5 separate regions of the Homo sapiens genome follow, and regions 1, 3, 4 and 5 are each linked to region 2. The links are contacts of gene promoters, found by promoter capture Hi-C in blood cells and fetal thymus (Javierre and others, 2016). All regions are on one chromosome and are shown on one strand. Each heading gives the region's core, a stretch centred on a gene start or on the middle of the fragment in contact. The rest is flanking DNA. Distances are from core to core; before and after follow the strand shown.

Region 1 (2,700 bases), core at 116-2,615, 900 kb before region 2:
CCCCTGCTCCCTCACCAGCCCTGGCTTCTGGTAGGTACTCCGTGGAAGGCTTCATCGACAAGAACAGAGATTTCCTCTTCCAGGACTTCAAGCGGCTGCTGTACAACAGGTGAGCACGGCTTGCTGGGCACCATAGGGAGGGCCAGGGCCCTGGGGCCCCAGAGACTCTGGGGTCAGGCATTGACTAGCGTCAGGACGTGGGTGGGTGGGGCTGCTCTCCCAGAGGATGGCTGGGAATTCGGCCTGTGTCTGCAGCACGGACCCCACTCTACGGGCCATGTGGCCGGACGGGCAGCAGGACATCACAGAGGTGACCAAGCGCCCCCTGACGGCTGGCACACTCTTCAAGAACTCCATGGTGGCCCTGGTGGAGAACCTTGCCTCCAAGGTATGTTCCACCCCTCTCCCACTCTGGCTGTTCCGGATCCTTCTCTCTGTGCCCTCGGTGCCAAGTAGGGTCCCAACCACCTCTGTACATCATAGTGGTGGGGAGAGGGTTCTTGTCCTGTCTGTATGAGCCACATCTGCTCCAGCAGTGGACCCCACCCACTGCACAGGTGAGATGTGGGGCCTCAGGGGCTGGGCTGAGGCTTGATCAATCATGGGGAACCCAGGCTTCTCCTCGCCCCATTGTCTCTTGAACAGGGAGGGGTTTGGGGAGACCCTGCTGAGAGGCTGGCTTGGCCCAGCCCAGCTCTTGGCAAAAACCCAGGATTCTTCTGGCAGGTGGGGCCAGAGAGACAGGAAACTGGCACAAGCTTTCTTGGGGAGCTTTGGGTCAAAAGTCAGAAGAGGAACAGGTGAAGGGTCAGGGAGAGGACATGTTAGGGTGAGCTTAACTACAGAACATCCAGAGATGTCAGCCCCTTTTGGAAGGAGAGAAGGAAGGCAGATGGGGCGAGGCCTGCTCCTGCCCCTGCCACGCCCACCTCCCCACCCCCCGACCAGGGGCTGGAACCTGGCTCTGAACCTGGCCTTGCTGGCCTCTGCCCAGCACTTAGGGCTTCCAGGGCCCTTGTTCTGCTGATTTCCCTTCTTTGTTCCCAACTCTTCTCCTGGCCTGGGACCTTGAGGGGTTAGGAAGCCCCTGGTGTGGGGCAGGGTGCACAGTGCTGCTGGCGCAGACCCTCTCCAAGTCCCCTCTGTCCCTGCAGGAGCCCTTCTACGTCCGCTGCATCAAGCCCAATGAGGACAAGGTAGCTGGGAAGCTGGATGAGAACCACTGTCGCCACCAGGTCGCATACCTGGGGCTGCTGGAGAATGTGAGGGTCCGCAGGGCTGGCTTCGCTTCCCGCCAGCCCTACTCTCGATTCCTGCTCAGGTACTGGCACCTGACACCCATCACTCCATGGGCCATAGTCCCTGTGTGGAGTCCAAGGGGTAGGAGCAGAGGGTCCCCAAACAGCACGTCGCAAACATCGATACAAGCAGGAACCAGCACGCTGCTGGCCTCAAGACACCAAAATATCTGGGAAGACATGTGTGTGAGCACATGCATGTGGGGACATACAGGTGGGAACATGGGTATGAGGGCTGTGTGAGGACATGTATGTGAGGACATGTGTATGGGAAGACATATGTGCACAGGTGTCATAAGTGCTCCAGGAACACACTCTGTATCCCTGCCATCTCCCCAGGTGTGGGGTGGGCAGGGTGGGCTCCATCATCTCTCCCCCAGGCCTGGGCCACACTGCCCTGTCCTGTGGTGACAGGTACAAGATGACCTGTGAATACACATGGCCCAACCACCTGCTGGGCTCCGACAAGGCAGCCGTGAGCGCTCTCCTGGAGCAGCACGGGCTGCAGGGGGACGTGGCCTTTGGCCACAGCAAGCTGTTCATCCGCTCACCCCGGACACTGGTCACACTGGAGCAGAGCCGAGCCCGCCTCATCCCCATCATTGTGCTGCTATTGCAGAAGGTGAGGTGGGCGGGGCAGGAAGACATCCACTATGGAGGTGGGGAAAGCTTGTGTCCCAGGGGCCACAAACACACTTGTAAGTTTCACAGGAGTCTCTGCTTGATGGAGACAGGCCAGGGAGTGCTCAATAAATGCTCAGGGCCAGGTTTGGGTCTAAGGGTTAGGGCCTGATTGAATTTGACTGCGTATCCCATCCCACCTGGCCCACCCAGGCATGGCGGGGCACCTTGGCGAGGTGGCGCTGCCGGAGGCTGAGGGCTATCTACACCATCATGCGCTGGTTCCGGAGACACAAGGTGCGGGCTCACCTGGCTGAGCTGCAGCGGCGATTCCAGGCTGCAAGGCAGCCGCCACTCTACGGGCGTGACCTTGTGTGGCCGCTGCCCCCTGCTGTGCTGCAGCCCTTCCAGGACACCTGCCACGCACTCTTCTGCAGGTACTACTCTCAGCCCACCACACATTCCATTCAGCTGGCATCCACTGAATACCTTAACCCATCATCCCGGGCCTGCAGTGCCTGGATGGGAGATACACCAGCCCCCTTGATAGGTGGGAAGGTGGATGCTATGCCACATTAGCTGACTGCTCATGTCCCACAGTTGGTGCAGAGCCCTGACCATCTTGGGTACTGTGGTGGGCATTCAAGGTCCAGGGCTGCAGCCTGCAGGGGGAGGCCCATTAGGGCTGGGAAGTAAGGGGATTCTGCATCTGAGCGGGGTCTTGAGGGCTGAGTAGGAGTTCTCCAGAAGGAGGGGCACAGAGCATGCTCAGAACAGGAGG
Region 2 (2,700 bases), core at 114-2,613:
GTTGGGCTAGTGAATCAACTCTTGGTCAAAGGGACAAAAGCAGATGAGGAGATGTGGCTTCAATCAGGATCAGTGTGGAACAGTGAGACCTGCGCATGGCACTGCTAGGAGGGATGGGTTCCACCTGCCAGCCTTGGGGGTCCTGGCAGCCGACAGGACTTTGCCCACTGGGACTTGTCTGCCAACCTTTGGGTACAGAGCCTTAGCTTCACAGGCCCCAAGCCAGGAGCCCCTCCCCAGGTAGGCCAGCAGGGATGGAGGGAGGCCTGTCGAGGGTTTCTTGCACACTCAGATCCAAGTCTCAGAGTGGTGGTCCCTCTGCTGGCCTCTCACCTACCCGCTCCTGTTATCAGAAGTGTCGCAGGTGACAGTGTGGTCACTGGGGTGGGAGGAAATGGGAGGCCCTGGATGGGGCCCATGCCCAAGGGTCTGGCCATGGCCCCTTCATTAGGGCCCCAATTGTGACTTTATTGCTCATAGTCTCTTCCCTGCCTTGGTGGCTCTCATCCCCCAAACCTGAATGCAGAAGTCTTGGTCCTAGACTCAACTCCGTGCCACCCTTCAGCCTACGTTGTGGGTTCCTGCTAAGCTGAGCATTTACCTAACAATCAAGACTTCTGACAGTCCTCAGTCCTGCCCCCAAACCCCCTTGGATTTCTCTTTTTCAAGGTGGTTTCGGCTAGGAGAGTGAGCGTGGCTTGGGTGAGGGCAGATAGGGTGGGAGCATGGGGCATGTATGGATGAGACCTTGACAAAGGGACCCCGGAGGAAAGACAGGGGCCCTTTCCCCCTTTGTCCTGGAAACCCGGCTCAGCCCCAGCCCTTGCCCATTCTGCTGCTGCTGCCTGGTACCTTCCACAAGGCCAGACTCCTCTCCACAAAGCTGTGGTCTGCACCAGCTCCTCTGGCTCTCCTCCTCTGCCTGCTGAGGGCCGCCTCCTAGCCTGGCTGCCAATCACAGGAGAAAGGGGTTGGGATTTTGTTTGTGCCTCTGTCTGAGCAGAGAATGGCTGATAGGCCACTGAGCGTTGCCCTGGAGAGCCCCTCTGTCCCTGCTATCCCCATCTCCCCTGGCCCAGACTTCTGCCCTTCACGCCCATCCCTGACCAGCAGCCCCACTCAGTCTGGGCTCTGGGTGCCAGCTGGTTATAGACATGCCACCTGAACCCAGGCCAGGAGCTGGTGGATGCGTGGGGCTATTTTAAGCACAGCCTCTTGGCCTGCACACTCCCCTGGCCCCCAGCCCCCAGCAGCTCAGCTACTGGTCACCTGCCACCGCCTGGAATGCTGATTGGCAGTTGGCTGGGGTGGGTGGGGGCTGGGAAGACACTATTATAAAGCTGGGAGTGTTGGGAAGCAGCCGTCCCCGTCCAGAGTCCTCTGTGGTCCCTGCTGCCACCATGGCCACTCACCGCCTCGTGATGGTCCGGCACGGCGAGAGCACATGGAACCAGGAGAACCGTTTCTGTGGCTGGTTCGATGCAGAGCTGAGTGAAAAGGGGACCGAGGAGGCCAAGCGGGGAGCCAAGGCCATCAAGGATGCCAAGATGGAGTTTGACATCTGCTACACGTCAGTGCTGAAGCGGGCCATCCGCACCCTCTGGGCCATCCTGGACGGCACGGACCAGATGTGGCTGCCTGTGGTGCGCACTTGGCGCCTCAATGAGCGGCATTACGGGGGCCTCACAGGCCTCAACAAGGCAGAAACGGCCGCCAAGCACGGGGAGGAGCAGGTGAAGATCTGGAGGCGCTCCTTCGACATCCCGCCGCCCCCGATGGACGAGAAGCACCCCTACTACAACTCCATTAGCAAGGTGGGCTGCCTTTGCTGGGAAGGCCTCTGGGAAGCTGCAGAGTGGGGAGTCGGGTGGGGGCCCACTGGCTTGGGAGGGAAAGCAGCGTGCCTGTGTCCCCCAGGAGCGTCGGTACGCAGGCCTGAAGCCCGGGGAACTCCCCACCTGCGAGAGCCTCAAGGACACCATTGCCCGGGCCCTGCCCTTCTGGAACGAGGAGATTGTTCCCCAGATCAAGGCCGGCAAGCGAGTGCTCATTGCAGCCCACGGGAACAGCCTGCGGGGCATTGTCAAGCACCTGGAAGGTGAGGCCACCTTCAGGAGCCTGGGCAGGGTGGGTGGGCAGCAGCCCCAGCTGGCTTCTCATCTCAGCAAAGTCTCTCGCCCATGGACCAGGCTTTCTAGGCGTGGGGCTCCACATCATTCACTGAAAAAGGAGGGCTGAGAAGCCATTTTTTAGTTTTGTGAAATTTTCCCCATTTCTGTGTAACTGGGACACACTCCACAGGGGCTGACTGCACTCGAAGCTCGCTGTGTCCCGAGGTGGGGCAGGCTCCAAAGGTGGCATCTGCCAAGGGACACCCAGCTAGGAAACGGAAGGGCTGGGCTTAGAGCATCTGGCTCCAAATCCCAACTTACTGTGGGGCCCTGGACAAGCCACCTCCATCTCTGGGCCTCTCCCTTTTCCGGGGTGGTGGGGAGCTCCCCCTGGTACTGAATTCCTCTTGATGTAGGCTTGGACCCCTCGCAGGGCCCTCCCCCATCAGGTCCTCAGAATCCCTGCATGAGCTTCACCACCTATCTCCCTCTGGAGCCCCTCTCTGGGCAAAGGAAAGACCAATCAAAAGAGGGGTGCAGGACTATGGAGTGGCCAGACTCTGGGCTTGCAGCTGGGCTCCCACTGAAG
Region 3 (2,700 bases), core at 166-2,665, 930 kb before region 2:
AGCGCGCTCTTGGATCCCGGCATTCCACAGAGCACATGGCTCACTTTCCGCAAAGCTCAGCATCATCCACACTCGGGCCTGATGGTCCCTACTAAGCAGCCACCGGGTTAGCACCTCTCCTTTCCAGCTAACTCCTTTTACACTGCTTGGCTCCTCCCTCTTCTGTGCGCAGCACGCATCTCTAATCTAACACCTGCAGGCTGAATCACTATCTTGAGCTATTTTCCAGACTTAAAACATCTTTGTAGATAACCGCAAATTATACTGCACCTAAATTAGACATGCATGGTGCTAACATGAAACAATGAGTTGAGAAAGTAGAGAACCAGCACCACAGGACTCCCTGAAGGCCACCTGGCTACATTCTATTTCAAACAGGACTTTTAAATGGGGCACTCTGTCAAACAAGGTGGTGAGTAGCTGTCAATTAAAGGACACTTCCCTGCAGAGTTCAGGGTAGTAAAATCATAGTTAGGAATTATCGAGGTCTGCTTTAAACTTGTGGATAAAAGTGCGCACACACACATCAAAAAGAAAATGATAGCCAAGACGTGAAGATTATAAAGCATTTATTTGAAAAAGATACATTTTATTAAAATCCATTTTCCACTTTAATGGTAGTTCAATCCACATCGTTTTTCCAGTCTTAAAATGTTTCTTTATCGACTACTATAACCCTTTACTGTAATTAAAGCCACATTTTGTAAAACTACATAAACTGGGGTTTGACTATGAACTATGTCCTAAATCCCACTGCCAAATGTAGCTAGCGTCACTAAAATCAATCAATGGTTTTAGGTCTGAGTGATAGTGGACGAGTGAGCTGGCCATAAGGTGAAGGCCACCCTTGCTTTTACTGGATATCCAAAAACGAAGTCCAGTGAGCAGCAAACGTCTCCACGTTAACCACACAGCCCACTAGCTCCAGTTCCAGCCCTGGACAGCTTTCTGGCCCCTCGCCGGGCCCACTTCCTCTGCAGCCCCAGGTCCCGACGCGCAGGGAAGGCCGTCTGGGGCCGAGGTCGGGGCGAGCCGCTGCCCGGGCCAGAGGAAAGGCGCGGCGCTTCCTGCCCGCCCGGCCGCGAAAGCCCACCTGACCATTGTCCGGGGTCTCGCCCTGCCCCGCCCCGCCCCGCCAGCTGGCCCACTGCCCCCCCCCCCGGGCCCCAAGGAACACCCGCCCACCCCACCCTGGCCCCTCAACCCAGCCGCCCGCCGACCACAGCAGTAGGACGCCCCCGCGCACGCTCACCTTCTTGCCCTTCTTGCCCTCCTCTTCCATATCGCCGCGTGCGGCTCCCGCGGCCCGCCCGGCCCGCCCCGGGAGCCCCGCCGCCAGCAGCCGCTACATGCTCGACCCGGGCCCGCCGCCCCCGCGCTCCCGGCGCCGCCCGCCAGCCGGGCCCGAAGTCTCCGCCCCGGCCGCGCCCCACACCCGCACTTCCGGGCCCGAGCCCCCTCCGCCCCGCCCAGGCCCCACCTTCCCCAGCGCAGGCCCCGCCCACGGTTGTCGCTCATCCTCACTTTCAGGCCCAAGGGAATCCGACCCGCAGCGATCAGACCCCGCCCCTTCAGGGAGAACACGGCCCGTTGGCCCCGCTCACGGCGAGAGCACCGCCCACAGGCTGAAGATCCTGCCCCTTCAGGACGGCCGAGAACGCGCCTGCCTTGCACCACCCCCACCCCGCCCCGCGTCCTTCAGGAGAGCCGGAAACGCTCCTACCCCTACTTCGCTTCTGCACGGCCGCGAGAACGCACCTGTCCAGCCCCCTGTTCGCTCCGCCCACTCAGCGCGCGCGGGAGCGCGCGCGGGAGCAGCTCCAACTTTTTCAATTTGCCGCCATCTTTACGGCGGCCGACTTCCCAGCCTGCCTCGCGTCCAGGGAGGCGGAGCTCAGGTCTCTGAAAAGGGGACGGGGGGCGGGGGACGGGGGACGGGGGCCGGCGGGAGGGGACGCGGCCGGCAGATGGCGAAGGAGGGGCGCGAGGAGGCGGCCACTGTTGAGGGGCGGGGCGTCCCGCCGAGAGTCTGGGTGCGGTGCGGTTTTCTTTTTTCTTGTGTCCCACTTTATTCCCTGAGCCACAGGGAATCCGTTTTCTAGTACTTCTCTGTTATAAAGTCTGCCTGCCTTAGACAAACACATTTGGAAAATAGAAGTGCAACCACAAGGATGTGCAGACCCTATCAGAATAAAATCGTAGAACCTTACCAGTCATCCGGTATAATTTCCACATTTTCCAGATGAGGTCCGGGGAATGAGGTGATTCGCCCAAAAGCACACTACAAATTGGAGTCACCAGCAGGTCTGCTATTTTGCCACTAAACCAATCTGCCGGTAAGAACTTTGTAGCACAGCTAGAATGTAAACTGTGTTTTTTTGGTGGTTTTTTTTTTTTTTTGAGACGGAGCCTTGCTCTGTCGCCCAGGCTGGAGTGCCAGTGGCGTGGATCTCGGCTCACTGCAAGCTCTGCCTCGCGGGTTCACGCCGTTCTCCTGCCTCAGCCTCCCGAGTAGCTGGGACTACAGGCGCCAGCCACCACACCTGGCTAATTTTTGTATTTTTAGTAGAGACGGGGTTTCACCATGGTCTGGATCTCCTGACCTGGTGATCCGCCCACCTCGGCCTCCCAAAGTGCTGGGATTACAGGCGTGAGCCACCGCGCCCGGCCTAATAATTCTTTATATTAAACTTTTCTTTA
Region 4 (2,700 bases), core at 71-2,570, 520 kb before region 2:
ATGGCTTCTGAGCAGAAAAATCTCTCATCTGGGGAATTAGACTCCCTAAGTTAAATTTTCTTTCTTTTTTGGAGATGGGGTCTCACTCTGTTGCCCAGGCTGGAGTGCAGCAGCACCATCACAGCTCACTGCAGCCTCAACCTCCTGGGGGTCAAGCAATCCTCCCACCTCAGCCTCCCGAGTAGTTGGGACTACAGGCCCATGCCACCATGCCCAGCTAATTTTTTTTTTGGTAGAGACAGGGTGTCACCATGTAGCCCAGACTGGTCTTGAACTTCTGGACTCAAGCGATCTTCCTGCCTCGGCCTCCCAAATGCTGGGATTACAGGCATGAGCCACAGTGCCTCACCTCCTAAGTTAAATTTTCTGCAGTGGAGAATACAATCTCTTTAATATTATCTCTCAGTTAAGACAAATTTCAGGATCCTCCTTAAAAAAAAAAAAAAAAAGAAAGAAAATAAGTTTGCCAATACAAATACCATTTCTCACTAAAGTGAATTAGGGTTCCTTGGAGAAATGGTTGGTTTTGTTTCTGGGCAGTAAATGTATAAAACGGAAAGCAAGGAAGTCCAGGGTGTCCAATCTTTTGGCTTTCCTGGGCCACACTGGAAGAAGAAGAATTGTCTTGGGCCACACATAAAATACACTAACAATAGCTGATGAGCTAAAAAAAAAAAAATCTCATAATGTTTTTAGAAAGTTTATGAATTTGTGTTGGGCTGCATGGGCCACAGGTTGGACAAGCTTGACCTAAAGACTACTAGGATTGTGGATTACTAGGATTGTGCCAGAAGGACACAGCAGCAACTAAATATTTGATGAGACAATCTGAACATTTAAAAAAGGACAATGACTGTAATGGATTAAAGCACATCAAATATCTAAACATCCATCAATTCATGATAGCACTGCCCCTTCTCCCCAAAGAACCCAAAGTGGTCACAGTTAGAGGTTGCTGGGGCATCCATCCATCCATCTTTATTATTATTACTATTATTTGAGACAAGGTCTCACTCAGTCACCCATGCTAGAGTGCTGTCGTCCCATCACGGCTCACTGTATCCTCAACCTCCTGGGCTCCAGCCATTTCCCTGCCTCAGCCTCCTAAGTAGCGGGAATTACAGGCATGCATCACCATGCCTGTCTAATTTTTACATATTTTGTAAAGATCTTGCCATTTCCTGGGCTCAAGCAGTCCTCCTGTCTTGGCCCCCCAAAGTGCTGGGATTATAGGCAGAGCCACTGTGCGTGGGAAAGCATCAAGCATACATCCTGGCTATCCCGAATGGATTGTATTTCAAAGTAACCAGAGAGATGAGGGAATGCTCACCTTTGTAGAAGAATCTCATCTTATAAATGCAGGAGAAATGAGAGCATTTGAAATTACCACTTTGCACACCTAAGGAACATCATAAAACTACACTAGGGTTTCTCAACCTGGGTACTACTGACATTTTGAGCTGGATAATTCTTCGCTGTGGGGGGGAGGTGTGCTCTGTGAATTATACAATGTTTAGCAGTATTCCTTGCATTCATTTTCTAGATAACAGCAGTACCACCCGCCACCCCCCACCCAGTTGCAACAATCCAAAATATCTCCAGACATTGCCAAATTTCCCCTTGGTAGGACAGGGCAGAATCAACCCTCGTTGAGAACCAATGGTCTAATGATCATCAACGTTTGCTAGACTATTAGAAGAAAGGCTGATGGTAAACTTCATGGATAATCAGGATGACAACCCCCAAATTGAGAGATGAATTACAATATTACTAAGAGACAAACCCGCCTTGTGCCTCAGTAGAAGTACATAGTGCCAGCCACGAAGCGTTATTGCAAACAAAACAAAACAAAAAAACCCAAACCTCAACATTACACCTAAACCTAATGAAGCTTCTAGCCAGGGGCAAATCCAAGCTTTGTGGGGCCTTAAACTATACAAATTTCACAGTCCTCTTTAAGAAAAAGACACAAAATTATAAATGCGAAATTAGGTACGGGGGTCTATGCAAGGGAGGGCCTGAAGATTAAGCTTCATTAGTTTCACTGTAAACCTCCCCTGACTCTAGAATTAACTGTGATTACAGGACATACCAGGGACAAAAAACGTTAAATGACACCTGAAGATACAATCAGCAAAACCCAGAAAGTGGAAAATTCTGTTGGTCAAATGACCCAGTTTCTTCAATAAGTAAATGCCATGAATAACAAACAACAAAAAGAGAGGGGAAATTTATATATATAATATATATATAATATGTATAATATATATATATGTTGTTATATGGTTTGTTTTTTTTTTTTTGGACACGAGTCTCTCTCTCACCCAGGCTGGAGTGCAGTGGCATGATCTCGGCTCACTGCAACCTCTGCCTCCTGGGTTCAAGCGATTCTTCTGCCTCAGTCTCCCAAGTAGCTGGGACTACAGGTGAGCACCACCACACCCAGCTAATTTTTGTATTTTTGGTAGAGGTAGGGTTTCACCATATTGGCCAGGCTGGTCTCGAACTCCTGACCTCGTGATCTGCCCACCTTGGCCTCCCAAAGTGCTGGGATTACAGGTGTGAGCCACTGCGCCCGGCCCTGTTTTTGTTTGTTTTGAGATAGAATCTCACTCTGTTGCCTAGGCTGGAGTACAGTGGCATCATCTCAGCCCACTGCAACCTCCACCTCCCTGATTCTAGCAATTCTCCTGCCTCAGC
Region 5 (2,700 bases), core at 92-2,591, 700 kb before region 2:
ACATGAATACGGGGAATTAGGAAGTGTTTTCTCCTCCACAATGTTTGGGAGAATTTGGGGATTTATGTCCATTCTTTAGCATTTGGTAGAATTCACCATCTGGTCCTGGGCTTTTCTTTTGTTGGGAAGCTTTTGATGACTGGTTCTACCTATGTGTTTTAGGTTGGTTCAGATTTTTTCCTTTTTCTTCTTTTTTTGAGGTCAGGTCTCTGTCTCTGCCTCATTCCTGGCTGGAGTGCAGTGGTGCTGTCATAGGTCGTTGCAGCTTTGAACTCCTGGGCTCTAGCTATCCTCCTGCTTCAGCCTCCCAAGTAGCTGGGGCTACAGGCACGTGCCATGACACCTGGTTGATTTCTAAAGATTTTGTCGAGGCAGGGTCTCTGTTGCCCAGGCTGGTCTCGAACTCCTGGCCTCAGGCCATCCTCCTAACTAGTTCTCCCCAAGTGCTGGGATCACAGGTGTGAGCCACTGCACCTGGCCCTGTTCAGATTTTCTATTTTTCCTGGGACAATTTTGGTCATTTGTATCTTTCTAGGAATTTTTTTGTTGTTGTTTTGAGACAGAGTCTCACTCTGTCACCCAAGCTGGAGTGCAATGGCATGATCTCAGCTCACTGCAACCTCTGCCTCCTGGGTTCAAGTGATTTTCCTGCCTCAGCCTCGTGAATAGCTGGGATTACAGGTGTGAGCCACCACGCCTGGCTAATTTTTGTGTTTTTAGTAGAGACAGGGTTTCACCACTTTGGCCAGGTTGGTCTCGAACTTCTGACCTCAGGTGATCTGCCTGCCTCGGCCTCCCAAAGTGCCGCGATTACAGGCGTGAGCCACCACACCCAGCCAAGATGTCGCATCTTTTTAAATGTTGGCATTTGCAGCTATAAATTTCCCTCAGAGCAGTTTTTGCCGCATTCCTTAAGTTCTGGTATGTTGTTTTCATCCATCTCTATTTCCTAATTTTTCTCGTGATTTCTCCTTTGACCCTTTGGCTGTTAAAAAGTGTGTTCAATTTCTATGTATGTGTGAATTTTCATTTTCCTTCTGGTATGGATTTCTGGTTTTATTCCATTGTGATTGGAGAAGGTGGTTTGCAGGATTCCGATCTCTAATTTACTGAGACTTGCTTTGTGCACTAACGTGTGGTCTGTCCTGGAGAACGTTCCCTGTGCACTTAGAAACGTGTGTTCTGCTGCTATTGGGTGGAGCACTGTTAAGTCTGGTCAGCCTTTTGGTTTTTATGTAATACTTGGCACATTCACAAGAAAATGTGTGAAACAGAAAGTACGACAAAGTGAAACCCACGAAGCCACCACTGACCCTGAGGTTCAAAACCTCCAGCATCTCTGCTCTTCCCTAAGCACAGCTCCGTCCCCTCCCCACGGGTGAGCACTGTGTTGTACTGACTCCCTGCCCTCCCTGATGACTTTAGCACCTGGGTATGAATTCCACACATATTTGGTTTTGAGCTTTATAAAAATGGCATCATACTGTATGAACTGTCTTGCTTTTTCATCCCACGTTGTTTCTGAGAGGTGTTTGTGATGGAGCACAGGGCCACGGTGCCCATGCATTCCTCAATCATTTCTCCAGTCTTCTGAGGATGGGCTTCTGGGTTGTTTGCAGCCTTTTGCTTGTCCCAGTCTCCTAGTTTCTCCACTCCATCCGGGAGCATCACGTTTGCAACAGGCAGGGCAGGTGGTGCATCAGATGTCCAGGACACAGTCATTTGACACCCAAGAAAGGAGGGCCTGGGGCCTGCATCAGGCCATGGCTGAGTGGGACTTTGCCAGGCTGTCTCCGCACCCAGCGACAGGACTGTGCGTGCTGCTGCTTCTTTTGTTTCCTCCACTTCTGTTCCCTCATCCAGAGAGGGCGGAAGAGCTGGAAACAGAGGCTTTGTCAGGGAATAAGGAAGCCCACCTGTGTGGTCCCAAATGTCGCAGGGGCAACGCTCACACCAGATACCTCCCTCCTCCTCCTCCCTGCAGCCTCTGGGCTCCCACAGACAGATGCCCTCCTCTAGTGCCTCCAGGGGCAGGCCTTGGCCGCCAGCCTGAGGATGCCCAGCGCTCCCCTCCTCCCCTAGGTTCCTGTGTTCCCCCAGTTCTTGCCTCTCCTGCTGGCTGGCTGGGAAGGCCCTCAAGGATGGGGCCCAGGACTGGAGGAAATGGTGACCCGGACCCCCACCAAGCTGGACAGGCAGATGGTAGGCAGGACACACCTCTGCAATCTCTGGGAAGTGACAAGCAGAGGCCTCCCAGGGACAAGAGCTGAGAAGGATGAGCCCCTGGCTGGGCTGGGGCTGCCAAACAACTGTCTCAGTGCCCCAGGGCAAGCCCAGATAAGGTGACATAGTGGCAAATGTCTCTCCTGGGCAAGCCTGGGATGCTTCACAAAACAGCTCTTCAGCTGAAGCCAACTTGGAAAATTCCAGGGAAAAGGAAATTTACTATGGGGCGGGAATAGCCGAGCCTTGGCTTGAAACATCCAGAGCTCAACCTGGGGCCCCAAAAGCCACTTGAAGGTCGACCTGGCCCCCAGGTCCTGCACAAGCTTTGCAGGCACAGCCCAAGCTTTAGGCAGGTCGCTGGCTTACGAGGAGAAAATAGTCCCTGGGAGCACAAAGGAGGGACTCGGCCAGGCCCACCAAGAGGGAGTCCTTTAATAGAGATCGGCACAGACAGGAGACACAACAGCCCAGGCG

The links. Contacts are between HindIII fragments. The CHiCAGO score rates a contact against its expected background, and 5 or more counts as called.
Region 1: a contact is called between a fragment that was not itself captured here and the fragment with the promoter of PGAM2 in region 2, in 2 of 17 cell types (monocytes and non-activated CD4 T cells). The highest score is 6.8, in monocytes.
Region 3: the fragment with the promoter of CCM2 here is called in contact with the fragment with the promoter of PGAM2 in region 2 in 1 of 17 cell types (neutrophils); the score reaches 6.6 in neutrophils.
Region 4: a contact is called between a fragment that was not itself captured here and the fragment with the promoter of PGAM2 in region 2, in 2 of 17 cell types (non-activated CD4 T cells and M1 macrophages). The highest score is 5.7, in non-activated CD4 T cells.
Region 5: a fragment that was not itself captured here is called in contact with the fragment with the promoter of PGAM2 in region 2 in 1 of 17 cell types (M0 macrophages); the score reaches 5.7 in M0 macrophages.

Annotation. Positions count from the first base shown.
Region 1 is chr7:44,965,293-44,967,992 of GRCh38, reverse strand. MYO1G (myosin IG) reads left to right here. Exons shown (of 22, transcript NM_033054.3): 13 at 35-109; 14 at 256-388; 15 at 1,155-1,321; 16 at 1,713-1,920; 17 at 2,133-2,356. Among named protein-coding and RNA genes, the nearest start is that of MYO1G, 12 kb to the left of the region's middle. RefSeq lists an enhancer at 1,836-1,935. The HindIII fragment of the contact is 1,209 bases long and covers 761-1,969 here.
Region 2 is chr7:44,064,230-44,066,929 of GRCh38, reverse strand. PGAM2 (phosphoglycerate mutase 2) reads left to right here and starts at 1,363. Exons shown (of 3, transcript NM_000290.4): 1 at 1,363-1,814; 2 at 1,918-2,098. The coding sequence starts at 1,401. It overlaps DBNL (drebrin like), which reads right to left. Exons shown (of 13, transcript NM_001014436.3): 13 at 1-2,700. RefSeq lists a silencer at 347-416 and enhancers at 1,597-1,666, 1,727-1,776, 1,967-2,026, 2,671-2,700. The HindIII fragment of the contact is 4,752 bases long and covers 1-2,700 here.
Region 3 is chr7:44,998,916-45,001,615 of GRCh38, reverse strand. It overlaps CCM2 (CCM2 scaffold protein), which reads right to left and starts at 1,415. Exons shown (of 10, transcript NM_031443.4): 1 at 1,253-1,415. The coding sequence starts at 1,282. LOC102723334 (a long non-coding RNA gene) reads left to right here and starts at 1,608. Exons shown (of 4, transcript XR_428139.4): 1 at 1,608-1,898; 2 at 2,243-2,336. RefSeq lists silencers at 939-1,468, 2,099-2,148. The HindIII fragment of the contact is 6,187 bases long and covers 1-2,700 here.
Region 4 is chr7:44,584,069-44,586,768 of GRCh38, reverse strand. No RefSeq gene overlaps it. Among named protein-coding and RNA genes, the nearest start is that of TMED4, 3.2 kb to the right of the region's middle. The HindIII fragment of the contact is 1,147 bases long and covers 747-1,893 here.
Region 5 is chr7:44,768,632-44,771,331 of GRCh38, reverse strand. ZMIZ2 (zinc finger MIZ-type containing 2) reads right to left here. Exons shown (of 19, transcript NM_031449.4): 19 at 1,451-2,700. Among named protein-coding and RNA genes, the nearest start is that of ZMIZ2, 21 kb to the right of the region's middle. The HindIII fragment of the contact is 2,420 bases long and covers 132-2,551 here.